Linked DNA regions of Homo sapiens: regions 1, 2, 3, 4, 6 and 7 are each linked to region 5. Evidence: promoter capture Hi-C in 16 types of primary human blood cells and fetal thymus (Javierre and others, 2016). All regions are on one chromosome and are shown on one strand. Each heading gives the region's core, a stretch centred on a gene start or on the middle of the fragment in contact. The rest is flanking DNA. Distances are from core to core; before and after follow the strand shown.

Region 1 (2,747 bases), core at 130-2,629, 400 kb after region 5:
AGCCAGGGAAGGCGTCCCTGAGGAGGTAGCGTTTGAGCTGAGAGCTGAAGAATGGACAGGAATGACCTACAGGAAGCAGGGGAGAAAGGGGAGGAGGGCGGTGTGTGCCAAGGCCCCGCACCACTCATGCCTGTGGGACATCACTGTCAACTCTCTGGTGAAGTGTCCATGCATGCAATTGGTTTAGGACTTCTCCACTCATGTTCTTTTCTTTTTAAACTTTTTAATTACAGAAATTTAAAAACATACACAAAAGCAGAGGGAATAGTATTAATGCAGGGGTCCCCAACCCCTGGGCCACAGACCACTACTGCTCTGTGGCCTGTTAGGAACCAGGCTGCACAGGAGGAGGTGAGTGGCAGGCAAGTGAGTGAAGCTTCGTCTGTATTTATAGCTGCTCCCCATCGCCTGCATCACCGCCTGAGCTTCGCCAACTGTCATATCAGTGGCGGCATTAGATTCTTACAGGAGCACAAACCTATTGTGAACATGCAAAGGATCTAGACTGTGCACTCCCTATGAGAATCTAATGCCTGGTGATCTGTCACTGTCTCCCATTACCCCGATGAGATCGTCTAGTTGCAGGAAAACAAGCTCAGGCTTCCCACTGATTCTACATTATGGCGAGTTGTATAATTATCTCATTATACATTACAATGTAATAATAATTAAATAAAGTGCACAATAGATGTAACATGCTTGAATCATCCCAAAATCACCTCTCCACCAATGCTGCAGGTCCATGGAAAAACTGTCTTCCACAAAACTGGTCCCTGGTGTCAAAAAGGTTGGGGACCGCTGGTATAATGAAGATGCACATACCCCTCACCCAACTTCAATAATGATTAACATTCTGTCCATTTTTGGTTTCAGCTACACTTCCCACTTTTCTTTCCTTTCCTCTTCTTTGTTTCATCTGCTCCCTTCCTTCTTTTTCCTTCCTTACCTTCTTCCTTTTAAAAACAAGTTTGCTGTAGTATTTTAAAGAAAATCCAAGACATCATGCAATTCCCTTAAAAACTCATGCTCTTATCCTTATAAAGCCCCAAATCACAATTTTAAAACATTAAAATAAGAAATGGAGACTGGATGGACTCTTCCTCTGTGTGGTTAGGCCACCACTCAACAAAGGAACCGAAGGAGGGACGGAGTCCCCTGGGGATAGAGCAGCAAGCTCGGAAAGGCCTCACGCCGTGGGTGGCACTTTCTCAGGGGGGTAATCTCCAGGTGGCTCAGAATGCTCTACAGAGGCTGATAAAGGCCGCAGTGAGCTCCAGGGTTTCTCTTGTTCAACTTTTGGAAACCAGGAAGTTTCTAAGGACCACAGGAAAACTGATGTTGCCTGAGACAAGGTGGGACCATCACCCCTAATTCTCACAGGTGGCTCTGAGACAGGAAAGTGATCAGCAGAGTTAAGTGGCTAAAAGAAGAGCCATTGGTGATTGGAGGGTTATGAGTGAGAGGGAAGTCAGAGAGGAGAGGAAGGTAGGGGCACTGTTCAGGCGCAGATGATGAATTTTGATTTATTCCACTTCAGGAAGATTTTTAAGTGGGGTGTGGCATGATCCAATTCATGTTTTAAAGATCTCTAAAGCCCCCAGGAGAAGAAGGGTGGTGGCTGGGGGTTAGGGGTGGTGCAAGGAAGCAGGGATGCCAGTCAGGAGCTGTTGCAGTTGTTCAGGAAAAAGATGGTGGTGGCGGAGTTGGAGTGACGGTGGTGGTTGTGGTGTAGAGAGATGGATGGCTTTTGACTTACTCTGGGGGTAGACACAATGGTGAAGATTAGAATTGAAAGAAAGGAAGGCATCAAGGATGACTTGGGTTTTGAATCTGCACGTTTGGGTGGTTGGTGGTGCTGCCCCTGGGAGGGGAGGATCAGCAGAGAGCAAGTCTGGGGATGCTACCCGGAAGATGGTAGCCATGAGCATGGGAAGAGCTGAGGTCAAGAGAGAGTGGAGGCTGGCAGCGACCTGGCTAGGAGCAGCTTCCCAGGCATCAACAAGGCAGACTGTGATTGGCTGAGGAGCAAATCAATGGGAAGTGAGGATGTGGAAAGAGGATGTGTAGGTGAAACTTGTGTCAGGTTTGCTATGATAAAGTATCAGGAGTAATCCAATAAAACAACAAAAAAATGTAAATGGATCTCTTTTGGGTTCATTTGCAATTAAATGAAAGAAGTGATTCTAAGAACCTTGCTTGTATTCAATTCAGCTGTGTCCTGGTAACTGTTGCCACAAAATTTAGTGGTATAAAAACAATAACCATTTTATTTTATTCGCCATTTTGTGAGCCGGGAATTTGGAAGGGGCTCAGCAGGGCATATTTAGCTTGGGGTCTCTCATGTGGCTGCAGTTAGATATTGGCTGGGGCTGTGGCCACTGGAAAGCTTAACTGGAAAGCTTAACTACTGGCTTAGGGCCAGTAGTTGATGCTGGCTGCCATGCAGGGCCCCAGCACACGGCAGCTTCAGCAGGGAGGGCTCAAGGTACTCAGACCTTTTACATGGCAGCTGGCTTCCCCTGTGCAAGAGAACCAAGGGGAAGTTGCAGGTCCTTTTCTGACATGGCACCGGAAGCCACACAGTGTCCCTCTGCTCTTCCACTGGTCAGAGCAGCCAGAGGCCAGCCCGGAGTCAAGGGACTCGAGACTCCACCTCTTATTGGAAGGGTGTCAAATAACTCTAGGGCCATATTTTAAAATCACCAAAGGTGGCTACTCTGTAAATTAACTCATCTTTCAATGATCCC
Region 2 (2,776 bases), core at 205-2,704, 340 kb before region 5:
GGTTTGCTTTGATTGTAAACGAACAAAAAAAAAGCTTAGTTATTTAAATTCCATTCATGAATCTAGGAAGGAGCTTAGAAATTAGCCTTTTCCACAATCAAGACCAATTAGTCAACTCTTCTATTGTAAGTTTTCATCATTTTTCTGTTTACCCAACTTACAAACTGCTTTTTAAGTCAGAACTTGAAGATTTATTCCTGGCAAATGTTTTTAAGAGCAAAAATTTGGAATCAGTGTAAGTGTCCCCAAATAGGATAATGGGAAAGTAAATGAGGATACATCTACTCAGTGGAAAATATCTTAAACTGTTTGAAGTTTGCAATAAAGTGGAAAATGCTTAGCTGTTATGTTCAAGAAAAATTATGAAGTCTAATTTATTTAGAGTGCCATGATAATTATGCTAATTCATATAGGCACTGAAACAAAAAAAAAAACCCTAAAACTTACATGAAGAAAAATAGACTGGAGAGGAAGACACCAACATGTTACTGATAATGATTATCATTTTATGGGTGAAATGAGATTGATTTTTATTCACTTCTCTCAACGTTTCCAAATTTTCTCCAGTGGTCATCTAATACTTCCAGAACAACAACAGCATTAACTACAAGATCACAGTTCAAAGAAACAAGTCGCTGAGATAATTTGACAAGTGGTCTATATCCAGAGCCATTAATATACCCACAACTTCTGACCCAGTCATTTCTCTTAGGAATCTGTCCTGAGGAAGTAGTTCAGCTTTCAGAAAAAGCCCTAGGCAGGGAGATGTTTACTGCAGGGAAAAACTGGAAACCACGTAGATGCCAAACACTGTAAAAATAGTTAAAGAAAACGAGGTTCAGCCACTTGACACCACTACGTATTCATTAGGAAAGAAAATGATGACAAAAAGCATGCACTGTGACACCAAAGACAAAACTCAGCATTCACAATTGAATGTGCAGTATGATAAGAGGGTTTGTTTATTTTTATTTATTTTTATTTTTTATTTTTTTGAGATGGAGCCTTGCTCTGTCACCCAAGCTGGAGTGCAGTGGCGCCATGTAGGCTCACTGCAACCTCTGCCTCCTGGGTTCAAGTAATTCTCCTGTCTCAGCCTCCCGAGTAGCTGGGATTAGAGGGGTAAGCCACCATGTCTGGTTTTTGTATTTTTAGTAGAGATGGGGTTTTGCCATGTTGGCCAGGCTGGTCTCGAACTCCTGACCTCAGGTGATCTGCCTGCCTCGGCCTCCCAAAGTGCTGGGATTACAGGTGTGAGCCACCGTGCCCGGCTATAACAGGATTTTAAAAACGCTATAGGTGTTGAAAAAAAAATCCTCAAAGAAGACGAGATGAATGGTTATTGATGGCGGGGCAGGGTGATGAGATTGTGTGTAGTTTCTTTTCTTGATTCAGCATTTTCTGTAATGGACTTGTCTTGCATTTATAACTGTAAAACGTAATGAGTAATGGAACAATTACTTGGTTCCAAAGCACAGAGTCCAACAGGGAAGGCTGGTGGAGAGCAAGCCCCTTTGTCAGCAGTGGAACAAGAGGGAAGGAGCCATCGAGGAGGGACTGATGAGATCTGACTAACTCCAGCACTAACGAAGCAGTGAGTGGGTGAAAAGAAATTGCGGGGCCTTGCAGGGGTCTAGGTGGGGAATGGAAAGATAAGGAATGCAAAATACACAGTTCTGTGGAAATCACTCAACAGTCAACAGACCACCTCTGGTGGACGAACATCAAATTCTGTCAAATCCCTCCTACCCTAAAGGTCAGGGAGAGGAGAGCTGAGGGCAGCCTCTAGGTGACCTGAAGAGGGGACATGCCCAGTAGGACATAGGAAGCCTGAGTGCAGGGGTCAGTACTGCCAATCTTTAACAGAGGATGCAGGGATTGACCAGAGCGCCCTGAGGCCACAGTGTCCAGCTCACAGTGTCTGTGATTTGCATTGCCCTTTTCTCTTGAAATTGTCTTCCTCATCCTCCACAGTGTGGTCAAAACGGCTTCCCCTCTGAGGCCTTCCTTCATTTCCCCCACCTGGATGGCACATCGTTTATATGTGGGTCTACAGCTCGGTGCCACAGCTCAGAACTGATTTTGTTCCATCTGAAAACAGCGGAATATACACCTGTCAGCTGAGGAATGTTTAGGATGTTCCATATACCGTGCTTGGTTCCCAGTTGTCCCGGGCTGGGTTAGAGCCTGGCTCTGTGTATTTGTGCTCCAGTTACTTCATGCTGCATAATAAACATTCCAAAACCTAGGGGCTTTATTTTGCTTGCCTCTGTGGTATCAGCTAGGGCAGCCAGAAGGCTGGGGCAGGAATCTTCCGAGGCTTGCTCACTAATGGCTGGTGACTGGTGCTGGCTGCCAGCTGGGACCTTAGCTGGCACTGCTGGCTGGAACACCCACGAGTGTTCCTCCCTTTATGGCCTGGGCTTCTTCACAGCATGGTGGCTGGGCTCCAAGAGAGAGAAAGGAAGAGAGAGAGAACACATCAGACAGGAGGAAGCTGTATTTTCTCTTATGACCTAGCCTCAGAAGTCACACAATGTCACTCCCCTGTGTTTCATTGGTTAGAATCGAGTCACTAAAAGGGACTCATAGTCAAGGGAAGGGGAATGAGACTCTACCATTTCCTAGGAGGAATGTTGCAGACAGGTCTTCAACCCCCACTGTTGGCCTTTGTTGTACGCCTCTTCTTTGTACCTAACATAGAGCCCTGAACAGAATATTAGGCAAAATTGCTGGTTGGGTCAAGTTGCCTTCTGGATTGGTACAGATCTGGGTG
Region 3 (3,116 bases), core at 545-3,044, 330 kb after region 5:
CTTGCACTTTGCAAGTGGAAGATACTATATATAAACATATTCACTGCGATGTCAGTTCCACAGGTGTGGAGATTTCTGTTGGTTTCATCCTTTGTTACTCCCAGTGCCTAGGATATGCCTGTCCTACAGTGCCCCATACATGTTAGAGACAAAAATAAAACCTATCTTCCCTGTATCTTTTAAAAATATATAGATAGAAGGAAAATGAGGGAAGAAAGGAGGGACGGAAGGAGCTCAAAGCCAGATCTGATATAGAGCCTAGCATCTAGCAACTAGAATTTTAGCCTGTGGGAGCTGAAACAGTGATTTCTACATGAACCTTAGACTCTGTGAAAAACAATAATATTGATGAAGATCTAGGCAAGTATAATACAGATAAACAATAACTTGGCACAAATAATATAGTAGTTTAGTAATATATATTAAAAATAAAATAATTCATGCCCTCTGATCCAGAAATTTCTTAGCCATAAATATGACCCAAAGGAATAACTGGAAAGTATTTTGCATGTGTATGTACATAGATTCATCTCAGCAGTATTTATCCAACAATGGAGTATTTACGGTGTGCCCGTGAAGTGGAATGGTAAGTGGCCACTCCAATTAATGAGAATGATTAGAAAGAGAGGTAGATAACTACTAGTATTGTCTCCATTTGTCAGATGAGTAAAATGAAGCTCAGCTACCTCAGATAACCTGCTCAAGGTAACACAGCCAGGAAGTGACAGAGCCAGGATGTATACCCAGGTGTGGCTGACCCTACAGCCTGCGCTCTGAATCTTCTGAGTAGAGTATTTATGAGTGGGATTGAGACTGAACTTAGGGATCATGTGTATGTGTAAGCCATCACAGACAAAAGCAGTTTTTCACAGTTACTTCCAAAACATTTTTTCTTTTGCCTGAAAATATGATAGACAATTTCTGAATTTTACTCTTGAATTGAATGCTTTTCCTTAAGAGTTCTCAGTTTTGATCTCTGAATTCTTTGAGCAACTTGAGGATTTTAAATACTGGCTATTAAGATATGGATTTAGAATGACCAAAAAGTTACCTTTTTGTTTGAAGATGTAATCTCTGCTTTTTCAAATTCTGCAACTTGTTCTAATAATTCTCTTGAAGAAGAAAGCAAAGATAAAAATTATTCATTTAAAATAGATTTATATCACACGCAAGAAGAGTAAAATCACTGGTACCAACCCATTACATGCCAGAGAGAACAGAGCAAGATGGACCAAACTTCACCATATCAAAAATGTTAGTTGCAAATGGTTGAGAACCTAAACCACATGGACTCAAATGTAATCATCCACAGTACCTGGCATTTTGTATCTACTAGGTATGCAATATCTACTGCTAGAAATAAACCATAATGTTAATACAAATATGAGGAAAATTTATAGTCAACTTTGTATTCTTGAGGTGCTATGAGGAGACTGTTTTATTACATAATGTGTATTGTTAGCTAGTAGGTGTTCAAAAAAGATTCTTAATAAAGTAGTCTCAGAAAAATGAAAATAGTCCATAGTATCTACTGAAAAAGAGTACCACAAATTCCTAGGAAAGACAGATAGTGGGGGTGTGCCATCTGAAGATTTGCAAAGGCCAATGAGAAGTGACTACACACAAGCTTAGAGTGTTAACAGCAGTCAGCTTCTAAGCTTCTTAAAGCACCACCTTCTCAGAGTTTTCTCACCAGTCATCTACTGACAGTGGCAGAAGTTCAATGATTTTCCTCCCCAGCTCATAGGTTGTCCTCAGCGTTGTTCAACACTCTGCATGTGAACTGATGTGCTGTGACTGTGCTTAGAGTAGTTCACGGGGCTTGGCGGTCAGTCCTTCCTGATTTCTGGCATGCTTTTTCTTAAAATGAGTTTCAACTTCACCAATTTTACCATATTTTTTGAATTTGAGCTCTTAGATGTCCATATTATAAGCTTTTTTGTATATTTCCTATTTCAAAGTTAATAAATGTATACTTTTAAATTCCATTATTTAGAAAACTTCCAATGCTACTGGATTGAATTGATGGTATTTATTATATTTGAATTGACTTTTCAACTGTCTCATAATCTCTATTTCTTAGTTGACCAATCTATAAAGACTGATGGTAATACTGACCAAGCTAACAAAAATGCTGTAAGAAATAATTAATGATAGCCTGAAAAGCAATTTCATAAATCTCGATGGCCTTTGTAATACCTAGGAACAGTAGAAACAGAGAACTTTTAAAAGGGTGCTTAGTGGTACCCAAGAGATCACTCAGTGACTCAATGCTTTGCTGTTACCCTACCCAAATTTCCTCACACACTAGCCCCAAGAAAATATGCAGCCAAAGATGTTCACTAACTTTTAAGATTATGCTTGGGCCATTATTGTCACAGTTGCAAGTTCAAATTTTATTACCGGTTTTCAAGTTCAGAGATGTCTGTCTGTAGCTTAAGATACCACTTCTCAGCTTGTGCAAACAGCTGTCGCAGAAGTAACACATTGGTATAGGCAGTGTTGATGAGCTCAGATTCCACCTCACTATGAACCACAGCTTGTAATCCATTGAGGACTTCAGAGACTTCATCTATGGTGAAGGTGTCCTCCACCAGCCTGAAAAACAACCATGATCCAAAACTTATAGAAAAACAACAAGAAAAATCTACAAAATACAGCAAAATTAAGAAACCCACATTCATGTAATCTAAGAAATTCAAAGATTACAGTGAAAATCTCTCTGGGAACTATCTTCTTTATTAATAAACATTGAAAATAATTTAAACTCAATTAATTTTTGACATCTATTCAAATGATTAAATTGTGCACATCCTTTAATACAAGTAAATGCTCAAACACATTCCCAAAACCATCATCTACTTTTTTAACTTTTTAGTATTAAATGTCTTATTTCAAACTCCACTGAAATCAGTCTTATTACATTTAATAATTTCAAAAGTCACCCGGAAGGCATAGTCTCATTTCTTTCTAATATTTCTCTAACATTTTAATAACTGTATGAACTATTCACAGGTTAGTAAACGTCTATGGGAAATAAATGGTAATTATATATATTGCTTCTCTTTGCATTCTTGAGACCCAAAATAATAATAATAATAAAAACTAGCTTATCT
Region 4 (2,793 bases), core at 46-2,545, 450 kb before region 5:
AGGGCCATCTGCTTTACTCAGTCTATGGACTCAAATATTAGTCTCCTGGAAACACCCTCACAGCCAGAAATAATGTCTAGTCAAATATCTGAGCACCCCATGGCTTAGTCAGGTTAACACATAAAATTAATCATCATAGCAACTTATCAAATTGTCTACAAATGAACACATGCTCTTAGAGTCTAGGTCCCAATCAATTGTAAGTCAACCAAAAGTTTCATTTCCCCAGGGTGTTAACTGGCCCTCAGGTGATTGTTAGGACAGTGCTCAAGGAGACTCGGAGATAACTTTTAGTCATCATTTTGTCTAACTTTCAAGTTCTGGATAATTTTTCTTAATATGATTAACCATACTCCCGCAAAATAATAGCCAAACCTGCTTAGACCAAAGGGACAAGTGGCTCCTTCATGGCCAGTTAAACTGTTGCAGCTGATGGCACCACTGCTATCTAAGTTCTCTTTGTCCCCAGATTTCTCAGTAACCTGGAGAGGGGGTGTTGGTGATATCGCAGAACTATCTGCCAAACTACTATTTTGATGAATGAGTTATTTTTGCAGTTCCCTTTTTGGTGTCTTTCTGGAATAGAAAGAATCATTTATTAGGAATGTTTGGCTTTCCCAGAGGGGCTCTCAGAGTAAAAAGACTGATTTGTTTTCCTTTGGCAATTTTAAATTATGCTTTTTGGCCCATTAGTGACTTTACTTACAGAAAAACATCTGAGCAAAAGAAAGGAAACAGGCGGGATCTTAGATCACATGAATCCCTACACCAAAGTCCTGGGAGAGCACCTGCGCTGGCTCTGAAGGGCCTATGCCACCAGGAGCACTGAAATACTGATCAAGAGATCAGGCCGGGCTCGGTGGCTCACGCCTGTAATCCCAGCACTTTGGGAGGCCGAGGTGGGCGGATCACTTGAGGTCAGGAGCTCGAGACCAGCCTGGCCAACATGGTGAAACCCTGTCTCTATGAAAAATACAAAAATTAGCCAGACATGGTGCCTGTAATCCCAGCTACTTGGGAGGCTGAGGCAGGAGAATCACTTGAACCCAGGAGGTGGAGGTTGCAGTGAGCCAAGATCGCACCACTGCACTCCAGCCTGAGTGACAGAGTGAGACTCCGTCTCACAAAAAAAAAAAAAAAAAGAAAGAAAAAAAAAAAAGAGAGATCAGCAGCCACAGAACACACCTTGGAGTCACATGGGTATAGCAGAAGGGCCCCCTTCCCTCACACCGGGCAGCAGGAGGCTGGACTTCTCCCATCAGTTTGCCACTTTCTTGCTGTGTGGCCTTAGTGTCAGAATCACACATTCTTTGGATTTCCTTATAATGGATCAAAAAAGAAAGAAAGAAGAAAGAAAGAAAGAGGAAAGAAAGAAAGAAAAGAAAGAAAGAGAAAGTGTGAGAGAGAGAGGAGGAGGAAAATAATCAGTTCTGCTGCACTTGCCTCACTGGGTGGTTATAAGGACCGATTCAATTCAGAATTTATTGAGTTGTTGTGTGCCCAGCACAGTGATGATTGGGGTAAAAGAGTGCTTGTGAAAGTGCTTTGCAAATCAAAAGAGAAGGTATTGACCCACACTATTGATCCCATTGAGATCAAAGACCCATGAAACCAAGCCTGCAGGCTGGCCTCATGGTGGCTGCAGCTACCAGGGGTGGGCATGGGGTGGGGTGGGGGGTGGAAGTCTTAATAGAGGGGTAGGGGGGGCAGTCCCTTAGGTGGAAGGTAGGGGAAAAGACTTAACCCAGGAATATAAAATAATCTTGCCACTGCTAGGACTGCAAACAAGCTCAGGGAACGCTGTGGGTGTCAGGCAGCCAACTAATTAGTGTTTTGTGAAAAGAAAGGAATCAAGAATGAAATTGGCCCCTGCTGGTATCCTGAGAGCCAGTGAGCCAGCCCAGGGTCCACAGTGCAGACTGAATTCTCGTCTGTGGCAGAGTGCTTCTTTACTTTTCTCCTGCAGAGCCATGGATGTGGATTTTGGCTAAAAATATTTTTTCCCCTCAAATGACATAGCAACCACAAAAGAATTTTCTGAGTAGTCCCTCTCACATGCTGGGTTTCTCTCCCTGAATTCGAAGGAGCAGCTGGACCCCTCACAACCCCAGTCCCTAGACCCCAGTCCCTAGTCAGAGTGGTTTCTTGCATCTCCAGTCTGGATCCTGGAGGGGTCAGATAGGAAAGTCCTGGGCAATGTGAAGAGGCTGGGAAAGGGCCTGAAATCATTTCACCAGCTGGTGCCAGGACTCCTCTTTCCAGATGGAGGGAGCCCAGCACCTCTTCTCCCAGGGCTGGTTGTCAGCCCCTGAGGATGGGGGTATCAAGGCCTGGGGATACCAAGGTCTGAGTGTCGGGTAGAGGATGGGAGCCCCAGAATCACCTGGAGGTGGTGTGGAAGAGGCTTCCAGCAGTATTTTGTGAAAGGAAAATATTTGCAGTGTTTTGTGAAAGGAAAATAAAAACTTGGTACCCCAATTCACTATATCAGAGGCATTTGAACCAGAGTGACTCCATCTTGAATAGGGGCTGGGTAAAATGAGGCTGAGACCTACAAAATGAGGCTACATTTCTAGATGGCTAAGGCATTCTAAGTCACAGAATTTGACAGGTTGGCACATGATGCAGGTCATAAAGACCTTGCTGATAAAACAGTTTGCAGTAAAGGAGCCAGCTAAAACCCACCAAAACCAAGATGGTGATGAGAGGGAACTTTGGTCATCCTCACTGCTATGCTCTCACCAGTGCCATGACATTTTACAAATGCCATGGCAATGTCAGGGAGTTACCATA
Region 5 (2,893 bases), core at 86-2,585:
CAGGGAGCTCCCATGAGAAGGGCAGGCCGCCTGCTGACCGTGGAGAGCACAGCAAGCCCCTATCCACAGAGCTTTCTTCTCTGTTACTCTGATCATGCCAGAAACGGGGCTACTGGGAAAAGGAACAGGAAGGGAAGAGAAGCTTTACTTGGGTCCTGCTGTATTAGTAAACCCTCCTTCTGCGCCACTAACTGGCTGCTAGGAAATGGGAATGGTGATATTTCAAGAATGAGCCATGGCTAATACTTAGAAACTAGGCTAATTATGTGACATGATGGCCCTGGGCACAGAACAAGGAAGAAGAGGAAGGTAAACTTAGTCTGATTTAATGAAAAGTCCAATTTGGAGACCATTTTCAGAGATCTATGGCCTTCAAAGATCTGCAGCCTGGCAGGCCACTCTCGCACCAGGTCAGGGGAGTGGGCAGCAGGCTCTCTGGGGCTTCATGAATAGGTAAATGTCATCTGCAGCAAGAAGGTGGGGCTCTGATACATCCTGATATTCTTTGCTCATACTGTAATTAGCACATTCCTTGTATATAGTGATTTTTTTAAGAGCACTTAACATGGCCAATCAATCAATGTTCTGAATTTCCTTGTTTATCCTAATAATTAGCAACTCCCTTCCTTCCCTCCCTTCCTCCCTCTCCTCCCTCCCTACCTTTCCTCCCCTCTTTCCCTGCCTCCCTCCCTTCCTTCTTTCCTTCTTCCAAGTGGGACAAATGTGGCCTTCAATGCCCAGCAGCTATCAGTTGTTGCAATTTCTGAGTTAGTGCAGTCTAAACTAATGAAGAAATTGTGAAGATCTCCCCCCAGTTTTCATCACTGTGCTTACATATAGCTGTGCTTCAGTGCAAGCAAGCATGATCTACCTCCAGGGATGTACCGAAGGAGTAGGAAGAAAGCTGACTCAGAAATCCAGGGCCTTCTTCAAGGCAGAGGCCCTGCCTAATACTCCCGCGTTTGATGGTCCCTGAGTCAGAACGGTTTGTTAGTGGTTTAGAGTTGCAGATTTTCCACTCACTTATAAAGGCCCCTGCTGTGCACAGTCACTATGATGAATGAATAACTCAGTTGCATACGCAAGTCTGTTCCCAAGTACCATCTGTTGAGTGAATGAATGAGTGAACAAAAGGGAAACACATTACCCCAATTGTGAATCTGAATAATGAACTTGGCAATGTGATGTGATCTCTGCTCCAGCAGGCCTGGGTTCCAAGTCCAGCAGGGCCCTTGATGTCCTTTGTCCTTCATTCCTGTGCACCTTGCGCCTCCAAATCACATTTGGTACGTCTTTCTTGTAGTGCTGATGGTTATTTATGAGCATGTCCTGGGCTGCCTGTTCTTATTGTAAGCTCTCCAATTAATTGCCTAGTGCTGTGTACCCAATTATCATGTAAATACATGTTGAATGAATAAACAAGTGTGACTCATTCAGAGCTAAACTACGCATGAGAGTAGACATGGCCAGCTTCAGCCAAGAGTGAAAACCAGATTCCCAACTCCCTATAGCCCATTCCCTGGCTCCCTGGAAAAGTGGAGGGAAAACACTTGGGAATGAGCAGGATTCTAGGAGCTGGGAAGCGCCCCTTTCCCCACTGGGAAATTCCATGTGAGCACTCATCGGGGCATTCCCCTGCTCTCATTCTCTTGCTTCAGCTGCTTGGGATCTTTCAATGCACCCCTCCCTGCAAAAAGATGGTGGCACTAGCTGGAAAGTATAGCATCCAGTGCCCCACTTCACTCATTTCTTTCTTCCCTCCTCTCTTGCCTCCACTTTGTCCTACTCACATTATCCCCCACCCCTGCTGCTGGTAGGTTTATTCATCCACTGAAACAAGCTTGATTGAGTTCAAGGCAATTAACATTACTGAGCATCTGTTAGGAACTGGAGACTGAGAGTGGCCTTTAAGGATTTTCAAGGCCAGGAGCAGTGGCTCATGCCTGTAATCCCAGCATTTTGGGAGGCCGAGGCAGGAGGATTGCTTGAGCTCAGGAGTTCAAGACCAGCCTGGGCAACATAGTGAGACTTCATCTCTACCAAAAATACAAAAAATTAGCTGGGTGTGGTAGTGCGCGCCTGTGGTCCCAGCTGCTTGCAGGGGTAAGGTGGGAATATCACTTGAGCCCAGGAGACTGAGGCTGCAGTGAGCTGTGATTGTGCCACTGCACCCCAGCCTGGGTGACAGAACAAGACCCTGTCTCAAAAAAAAATCATCCTCCTACTCCTCACAGGAGAAAGACAGGCAAGCAGCTTACCTAAATACACAATAAAATGTAATAGCTGCTAGATACAATTACAGGCACTACACAGGATGCATCAGGAAGGAAAAAACAACTAATTCTAATTCTGACCAGGAGATACCTTCTCAGTGGAGATGGCATTTGAGTTGAGCCAGGAAGGAGGACTAGAGTTTTGATAACAGTTTGGGAAATGGCGTGAGTAAAGACGTGGAAGCACATGCAGGCAACATTTGAAAGAGCAGAGGGAGTGGCAGGGGACAGGGAGAAGTCCTGGATGGCTATGCGGAGGAATTTGGACTTGATTGGGAGGAGGAGCTCTTCAAATATGACTGCACTCTTTCTTTTCCTCCCTCACAGCTCTGAGAGTTGTCAGGCATTGGTTTGGTTCAGTGATCGTAAACAGGCTGGCTCCCCAAGGGCAGAGATTGCTTTGCCCAACATTATATCCCCAGTGCCTAGCTCAGTGCCAGGCACATAGCAAGCACTCAAGAAATACCAAAGAAATAAGTGATACATTTCACATAATAACTCTGTGCTTTCTGATTATATGGTACGAAGAAGAATTCAGAGACTCGTTCTGAGCACCAGGAGTGCTGCTGTCGATGAATGGTGTCTGGGTGGTTGTAGGCAAGGGCACTGGGGATAGTTGG
Region 6 (3,147 bases), core at 59-2,558, 430 kb before region 5:
TAGACTATAGCTAATCTTTTCCTAGGCTTGTTTGTTGGCTGGGTCTCAAATGACCATAGTCTAGCTCTTGCAGTTACCTACTGACATGGTTTAGATCTGTGTCCCTACTGACATGGTTTAGCTCGTGTCCCCACCAGATCTCATCTTGAATTGTACTCCCATAATTCCCACGTGTTGTGGGAGGGACTTGGTGGGAGATAATTTAAATCATGAGGGTGGTTTCCCCCATACTGTTCGCATGGTAGTGAATAAGTCTCATGAGATCTGATGGTTTTATCAGGGGGTTCTGCTTTTGCATCTTCCTCATTTTTCTCTTGCCACCACCATGTTAAGAAGAGCCTTTTGCCTCCCACCATGATTCTGAGGCCTCCCCAGCCATGCAGAACTGTAAGTCCAATTAAACCTCTTTTTCTTCCCAGTCTCGGGTATGTCTTTATCAGCAGCATGAAAATGGACTAATACAGTAACTTGGTACCAGCAGAAGGGGTGCCTCTGAAAAGATACCCAAAAATGTGGAAGCAACTTTGGAACTGGGTAACAGGCAGAGGTTGGAACAGTTTGGAGGGCTCAAAAAAAGACAAGAAAATGTGGGAAAGTTTGGTACTTTCTAGAGACTTGTTGAATGCCTTTGCCCAAAATGCTGATAGCAATATGGACAATAAAGTCCAGGCTGAGGTAGTCTCAGATGGAGATGAGGAACTTGTTGGGAAGTGGAGCAAAGATGACTCTTGTTATGTTTTAGCAAAGTGACTGGTGGCATTTTGCCCCTGCTGTAGAGATTTGTGGAATTTTGAACTTGAGAGAGGTGATTTAGGGTATCTGTGGAAGAAATGTCTAAGCAGCAAAGCATTCAAGAGGTGACTTGGGTGCTATTTAAGGCATTCAGTTTTAATAAGGAAGCAGAACATAAAAGTTTGGAAAGTTTGCAGCCTGAAAATGCAGTATAAAAGAAAAATCTATTTTCTGAGGAGAAATTCATGAAAGCTGCAGAAATTTGCATAAGTAATGAGGAGCCGAATGTTAATCCCCAAGACAATGGGGAAATGTCTCCAGGGCATATCAAAGGTCTTCATGGCAGCCCCTCCCATCACAGGCCCAGAGGCCTAGGAGGAAAAAAATGGTTTTGAGGGCCAGGCCCAGGGTACCTGTGCTGTGTGCAGTCTAGGGACTTGGTGCCCTGCATCCCAGCCACTTCAGCTATGGCTGAAAGGGGCCAATGTAGAGCGTGGGCTGTGGCTTCAAAGGGTGCAAGTCCCAGGGCTTGGCAGCTTCCACATGGTGTTGAGCCTGCAAGTGCACAGAAGTGAAGAACTGAGGTTTGGGAACCTCAGCCTAGATTTCAGAGGATGTATGGAAACGCCTGGCTGTGCAGGCAGAAGTTTGCTGCAGGGGCGGGGCTCTCATGGAGAACCTCTGCTAGAGCAGTGCAGAAGGGAAATGTGGGGTTGGAGCCCCCACAGAGAGTCCCTACTGGGGCACTGCCTAGTGGAGCTGTGAGAAGAGGGCCACTGTCCTCCAGACCCCAAAATGGTAGACCCACTGACAGCTTGCACTGTGCACCTGGAAAAGCCGCAGACCGCAGACTCAACGCTCGCCCATGAAAGCAGCCAGGAGGGAGGCTGTATCCTGCAAAGCCACAGGGGCAGAGCTGTCCAAGACCATGGGAACCCGCCTCTTGTTTCAGCATGACCTGGATGTGAGACATGGAGTCAAAGAAGATCATTTTGGAGCTTTAAGATTTGACTGCCCCACTGGATTTCAGGCTTGCATGGGGCCTATAATCCCTTTGTTTTGACAAATTTCTCCCATTTGAAATGGCTGTATTTACTCAATACCTGTACCCCCATTGTGTCTAGGAAGTAACTAGCTTGCTTTTGATTTTACAGGCTCATAGGTGGAAGAGACTTGCCTTGTCTCAGATGAGACTTTGGACTGTGGACTTTTGGGTTAATGCTGAAATGAGTTAAGACTTTGGGGGACTGTTGGGAAGGCATGATTGGTTTTGAAATGTGAGGACATGAGATTTGGAGGGGCCAGGGGTGGGATGATATGGTTTGGCTCTGTGTCCCCACCTAGATCTCATTTTGAATTGTACTCCCATAATTCCCACATGTTGTGGGAGGGACCTGGTGGGAGATAATTTGAATCATGGGGGCAGTTTTCCCTATACTGTTCCCATGGTAGTGAGTAAGTCTTACAAGACCTGATGGTTTTGTCAGGGGTTTCTGCTTTTGCATCTTCATCATTTTTCTGTTGCCACTGCCATGTAAGAAGTGCCTTTAACCTTCCACCATGATTCTGAGGCCTCCCCAGCCATGTGGAACTGCAAGTCCAACTATACCTCTTTTTCTTCCCAGTCTCAGGTATGTCTTTATCAGCAGCATGAAAACGGACTAATACACCTACATTAAAGGGCAGAGAAGAGGCCGTGCTGGTTCATCCATATAACTCATGGGATCATTAGGAGGTTCTTAAGGCTGGGTACAGGGGCTCATGCCTGTAATCCCAGCACTTTGCTGGGTGAAGGCAGGCAGACTCACCTGAGGTCAGGAGTTTGAGCCTGGCCATGGTGAAGCCTGCCTCTACTAAAAATACAAAAATTAGCCAGGCGTGGTGGGGCACACCTGTAATCCCAGCCATTCAGGAGGCTGAGGCATGAGAATCGCTTGAACCTGGGAGGTGGAGGTTGCAGTGAGCCAAGATCATGCCACTGCACTTCAGCCTGGGCAATAGAGCGAGACTCTGTCTCAAAAAAAAAAAAAAATTGTTCTTATGAAGCCTGAGGCTAGGAGAGAATTGGCCAGCAGGAGGCTGAGTTCCACCTTTCTCATTTCGTCATAAGCACGTTTAAAGCCAAGAAACAGCCTTGTGAACCGCCCAAACAGAACAGTGAGCTGTGAGGTTGGGTGTCGTTTGCAGGCTCCCCAGGACTGGCTGAGGATGCCTTGATGTGGCACTGATTAGAGATGATCCCAGAGACCACACAGATGTGAACAGGACTCCCCTCTTCCGTGGGGAACAGAAGTCCATGAGAGGCTGGGTCTGAAGGGCAGGGCGAGGGTAAAGGAGACAGGTTTGGCAGCAGCCTGGAGGGCTATAGGTGCTTTGCCCTGTGGCTTTAACATCAGATCCCCAAGTATCCCTGAC
Region 7 (3,189 bases), core at 545-3,044, 480 kb before region 5:
CACATGGCAGCAGGACAGAGTGAGTACAAGCAGGGGAAATGCCAGATGCTTATAAAACCATCAGATCTCATGAGACTCACTATCACGAGAACAGCATGGGAGAAACTTGCCCCCATGGTTCAATGACCTCCACCTGGTCTTTCCCATGACACATGGGGATTATGAGGATTACAATTCAAGGTGAGATTTTGGGTGGGGACACAGCCAAGCCATATCATTCCACCCCGGCCCCTCCCAAATCTCATGCTCTCACATTTCAAAGCACAATCATGTGGGGCAGAATGATATGGTTTGACTATGTTCTCACCCAAATTCTTATCTTGAATTGTAATCCTCATAATGCCCATGTGTCAAGGGAGAGACCAGGTGGAGGTCATTGAACGATGGGGGTGGTTTCCCCCATGCTGTCCTTGTGATAGTGAGTTCTCATGAGATCTTATGGTTTTATAAGTGTTTGGCAGTTCCTCCTGCATTCATTGTACCTCCTGCCTCCTTGCGAAGAAGGTGTTTGTTTCCCCTTCACCTTCTGCCACAATTGTAAATTTCCTGAGGCCTCCCCAGCCGTGTGGAACTGTAAATCAATTAAACCTCTTTCCTTTCTAAATTACCCAGTCTTGGGCAGTTCTTTAGAGTAGTGTGAAAACGGACTAACAAAATCAAGTATTATGTGCTAACATGACCTTATATGCTCTACTTCGATATGACTGGCAGTAAATTTGTTTACACCAGCATCACCACAAACTTGGGAATAATGAGTTGCACTATGACTTTACAACCCTTTGTGACATCACTAGGTGTTAGGAATTTTTCTGCCCCATTATAATCTTATGGAAGCATATCACATATGTGGCCTGTTGTTGACTGAACTGTCATGATGCAGCATGTGACAACACATCACTGCCGTGTGCTCCTCAGACCCCATCAGATTTCTCTGGTTGTCCCAACTGCATCCTTGAGAATGGAGGGTCCAGTCCAGAATCACATATTGCATTTAGTTCTGTGTCTTCAGTCTCCTTCAGCCTGAAACACTTCCTCAGCCAGGAGCTTTGAAAATTACTGGCAGTCATTTTGCAGAATGCTCCTCCATTTGGGATTGTCTGATGTCTCTCTGGCCGGAGTCCTATGGAGTGATGCCACATTCTCACTGCAGCCCCCCAGGTGCTGCAAGCTTTTTATTGGCCCTGTTGATGTTTACTTTGGTCACAGATGAGGTGATGTCTGCCAGCCTTCTTCACCATGAAGTTGCTCTTTTTCTCTCTGGAATGGATAAGTGTTTTGTGGGCAGATACTTTGAGGCTATGTAAACATCCCATTGAAGAACATCAGACTTTCAATGCGTTCCCTTACTTACTTATATCTGTGTGCACTGGTGGTTTCCCATCTGTTACTGTCACTATGTTGGTGCTCAAATTGTCCCTGATTCTGACCACTGAAGGCTCCTTCAAGCTGGCTCTGTGTCCTACTGACGTGTTCCCATTATTCATTAAGCACTTCCTTGTTTTCTGGCAAAACAACAAGTTCCGGGCTCATTTTCTGCACCCCACTCCTACTTCCCAGTGCTAGAATCAGCCGTTTCTGCAAGGTGCTCTGGTTCCTTTAGTGGAAAGTCATATTCAGAAGCCAGTATTCAGGTGCTAGGAGTGCTCCAGGCTATGCGGGGCTGGCTGCTCCAGGCCCCCCAGTGACTGTGGGGACTAGACACACACACATTTCCATCTATATATATGGACTTATCTTTATGTATTCAAGGCCACAAGGGTACACTGATCATTCCGATTTTAATCCCACACAACAGGATTCATTCCAGTTTTCTCTCCATATACATAACTTCCTTCTCTGACAATAGGAAACCTAACTCCCACTGTCTTCAGTAGATTTATTTGATCAGTATCCCTGTGTGTAACCAATCTCCCGTCTCTGCCACCAGCCTCTCTCCCACATGGATCCCCTCCTTGCCTCACTTGGACTCCAGCACTCCAGGCAGGGCCTTTGCTTTCCCCAGGATGCTCCCTCCACCCTGCTGGGCTCCCACACCCCACACCAGTCCACCCCTTGAGGGCACATTCTCCCCACATCCTCTCTGGTACCTCTGGGGCACGATGGCTTCTCCCTCCGCCACCTTTGCTATGCCCCACTTTGTGGCTTTAGGACAGGACTCAGGAGAAAGGGAAGACAAGAAGGGAAGGAATCCCTTGGATTTTTTAACCAAAAAATGCATCAAGTACATGGAGACAGAGCCACAAAATAATCATAACAAATATTCTAAACCAATCAGACAGCCAGCCCCAGATCACCCTATAAGGGGGCATTGCTACCCCGTGACAGCTGGGTAGCCTGGGCAAATTCCCTAACCTCACCGAGCCTCAATTTCCTCAATGGTAAAATGGGGAAAGGACAGTGCTTCCCTCGTGGTTTGGGTGTGAAGCTTCTGTGAGTTAATGTTAGTGAACAGCCAGCCTCAGCCCCTACCCAAGGTAGCTGCTCCGCAGATGTGATGACAACCACCGTGTGTTTCTCAGAATCCTAGGAAATAAGGGCTTCTTTCTAGAAGGCAGGGCCAGGATGCTGCGTGGGTGTTCCCTGGCAGAGAGGCTCTGTGGCCCTCAGGACTTCATCCTTCTGCAGGCTTGTGTGTTTGTTTTATTTTTTTGGCACGCCTGCAGCCAAGTTGGGGAGGGTTTCCTGGACAGAGGTCCTTTGGCTGCTGCCTTAAGACGTGCAGCCTGGGCCGTGGCTGTCACTGCGTTCGGACCCAGACCCGCTGCAGGCAGCAGCAGCCCCCGCCCGCGCAGCAGCATGGAGCTCTGGGGGGCCTACCTCCTCCTCTGCCTCTTCTCCCTCCTGACCCAGGTCACCACCGAGCCACCAACCCAGAAGCCCAAGAAGATTGTAAATGCCAAGAAAGGTAAGGAGGGGGACAGAGCCCTGTGCCATCTTCCAGGGAGCAGGTCCCCCTCTCCTTAGTGTGTCCTCATGCTCCTTTCCTTCATTTTCCTCCTTTTGAGTCATCTAGGGAACTTGAGTAAAGTGGGCTTTGGGGCTTGGGGGAGTTCTCTCATAGCAGAGTTGGTTGTCAGAATCATAAGAATCCCTGACCCTTAGAGTTGGGAAGAACCTTCCAGATCATCCAAACTGATCTTTGCTCTTCTCTCCTCCCCTCATCCCCAATATTTTAAAGAAACCAAACCT

The links. Contacts are between HindIII fragments. The CHiCAGO score rates a contact against its expected background, and 5 or more counts as called.
Region 1: a fragment that was not itself captured here is called in contact with the fragment with the promoter of LARS2-AS1 in region 5 in 1 of 17 cell types (endothelial precursors); the score reaches 6.8 in endothelial precursors.
Region 2: a fragment that was not itself captured here is called in contact with the fragment with the promoter of LARS2-AS1 in region 5 in 2 of 17 cell types (megakaryocytes and erythroblasts); the score reaches 5.4 in megakaryocytes.
Region 3: a contact is called between a fragment that was not itself captured here and the fragment with the promoter of LARS2-AS1 in region 5, in 1 of 17 cell types (megakaryocytes). The highest score is 6.5, in megakaryocytes.
Region 4: a contact is called between a fragment that was not itself captured here and the fragment with the promoter of LARS2-AS1 in region 5, in 6 of 17 cell types (megakaryocytes, endothelial precursors, M1 macrophages and 3 more). The highest score is 12.4, in megakaryocytes.
Region 6: a contact is called between a fragment that was not itself captured here and the fragment with the promoter of LARS2-AS1 in region 5, in 2 of 17 cell types (M1 macrophages and endothelial precursors). The highest score is 5.5, in M1 macrophages.
Region 7: a contact is called between a fragment that was not itself captured here and the fragment with the promoter of LARS2-AS1 in region 5, in 10 of 17 cell types (endothelial precursors, erythroblasts, M0 macrophages and 7 more). The highest score is 9.4, in endothelial precursors.

The regions. Positions count from the first base shown.
Region 1 is chr3:45,908,554-45,911,300 of GRCh38, forward strand. It overlaps a transcript of LZTFL1 not described here. Among named protein-coding and RNA genes, the nearest start is that of CCR9, 23 kb to the left of the region's middle. The HindIII fragment of the contact is 2,010 bases long and covers 375-2,384 here.
Region 2 is chr3:45,167,887-45,170,662 of GRCh38, forward strand. No RefSeq gene overlaps it. Among named protein-coding and RNA genes, the nearest start is that of CDCP1, 23 kb to the left of the region's middle. RefSeq lists an enhancer at 1-254. The HindIII fragment of the contact is 2,845 bases long and covers 33-2,776 here.
Region 3 is chr3:45,833,187-45,836,302 of GRCh38, forward strand. LZTFL1 (leucine zipper transcription factor like 1) reads right to left here. Exons shown (of 10, transcript NM_020347.4): 3 at 2,404-2,598; 4 at 1,052-1,112. Among named protein-coding and RNA genes, the nearest start is that of LZTFL1, 7.4 kb to the right of the region's middle. The HindIII fragment of the contact is 276 bases long and covers 1,657-1,932 here.
Region 4 is chr3:45,058,800-45,061,592 of GRCh38, forward strand. No RefSeq gene overlaps it. Among named protein-coding and RNA genes, the nearest start is that of CLEC3B, 34 kb to the left of the region's middle. The HindIII fragment of the contact is 8,779 bases long and covers 1-2,793 here.
Region 5 is chr3:45,508,210-45,511,102 of GRCh38, forward strand. LARS2-AS1 (LARS2 antisense RNA 1) reads right to left here and starts at 1,336. Exons shown (of 4, transcript NR_048543.1): 1 at 1,148-1,336. All of the region lies in intron 15 of LARS2 (leucyl-tRNA synthetase 2, mitochondrial), which reads left to right. RefSeq lists an enhancer at 1-581 and a silencer at 1,408-1,702. The HindIII fragment of the contact is 1,698 bases long and covers 141-1,838 here.
Region 6 is chr3:45,076,247-45,079,393 of GRCh38, forward strand. The region is part of intron 1 of LOC124906233 (a long non-coding RNA gene); the gene reads left to right. Among named protein-coding and RNA genes, the nearest start is that of CLEC3B, 52 kb to the left of the region's middle. The HindIII fragment of the contact is 4,633 bases long and covers 1-3,147 here.
Region 7 is chr3:45,023,567-45,026,755 of GRCh38, forward strand. CLEC3B (C-type lectin domain family 3 member B) reads left to right here and starts at 2,737. Exons shown (of 3, transcript NM_003278.3): 1 at 2,737-2,905. The coding sequence starts at 2,797. RefSeq lists an enhancer at 3,117-3,189. The HindIII fragment of the contact is 1,257 bases long and covers 1,167-2,423 here.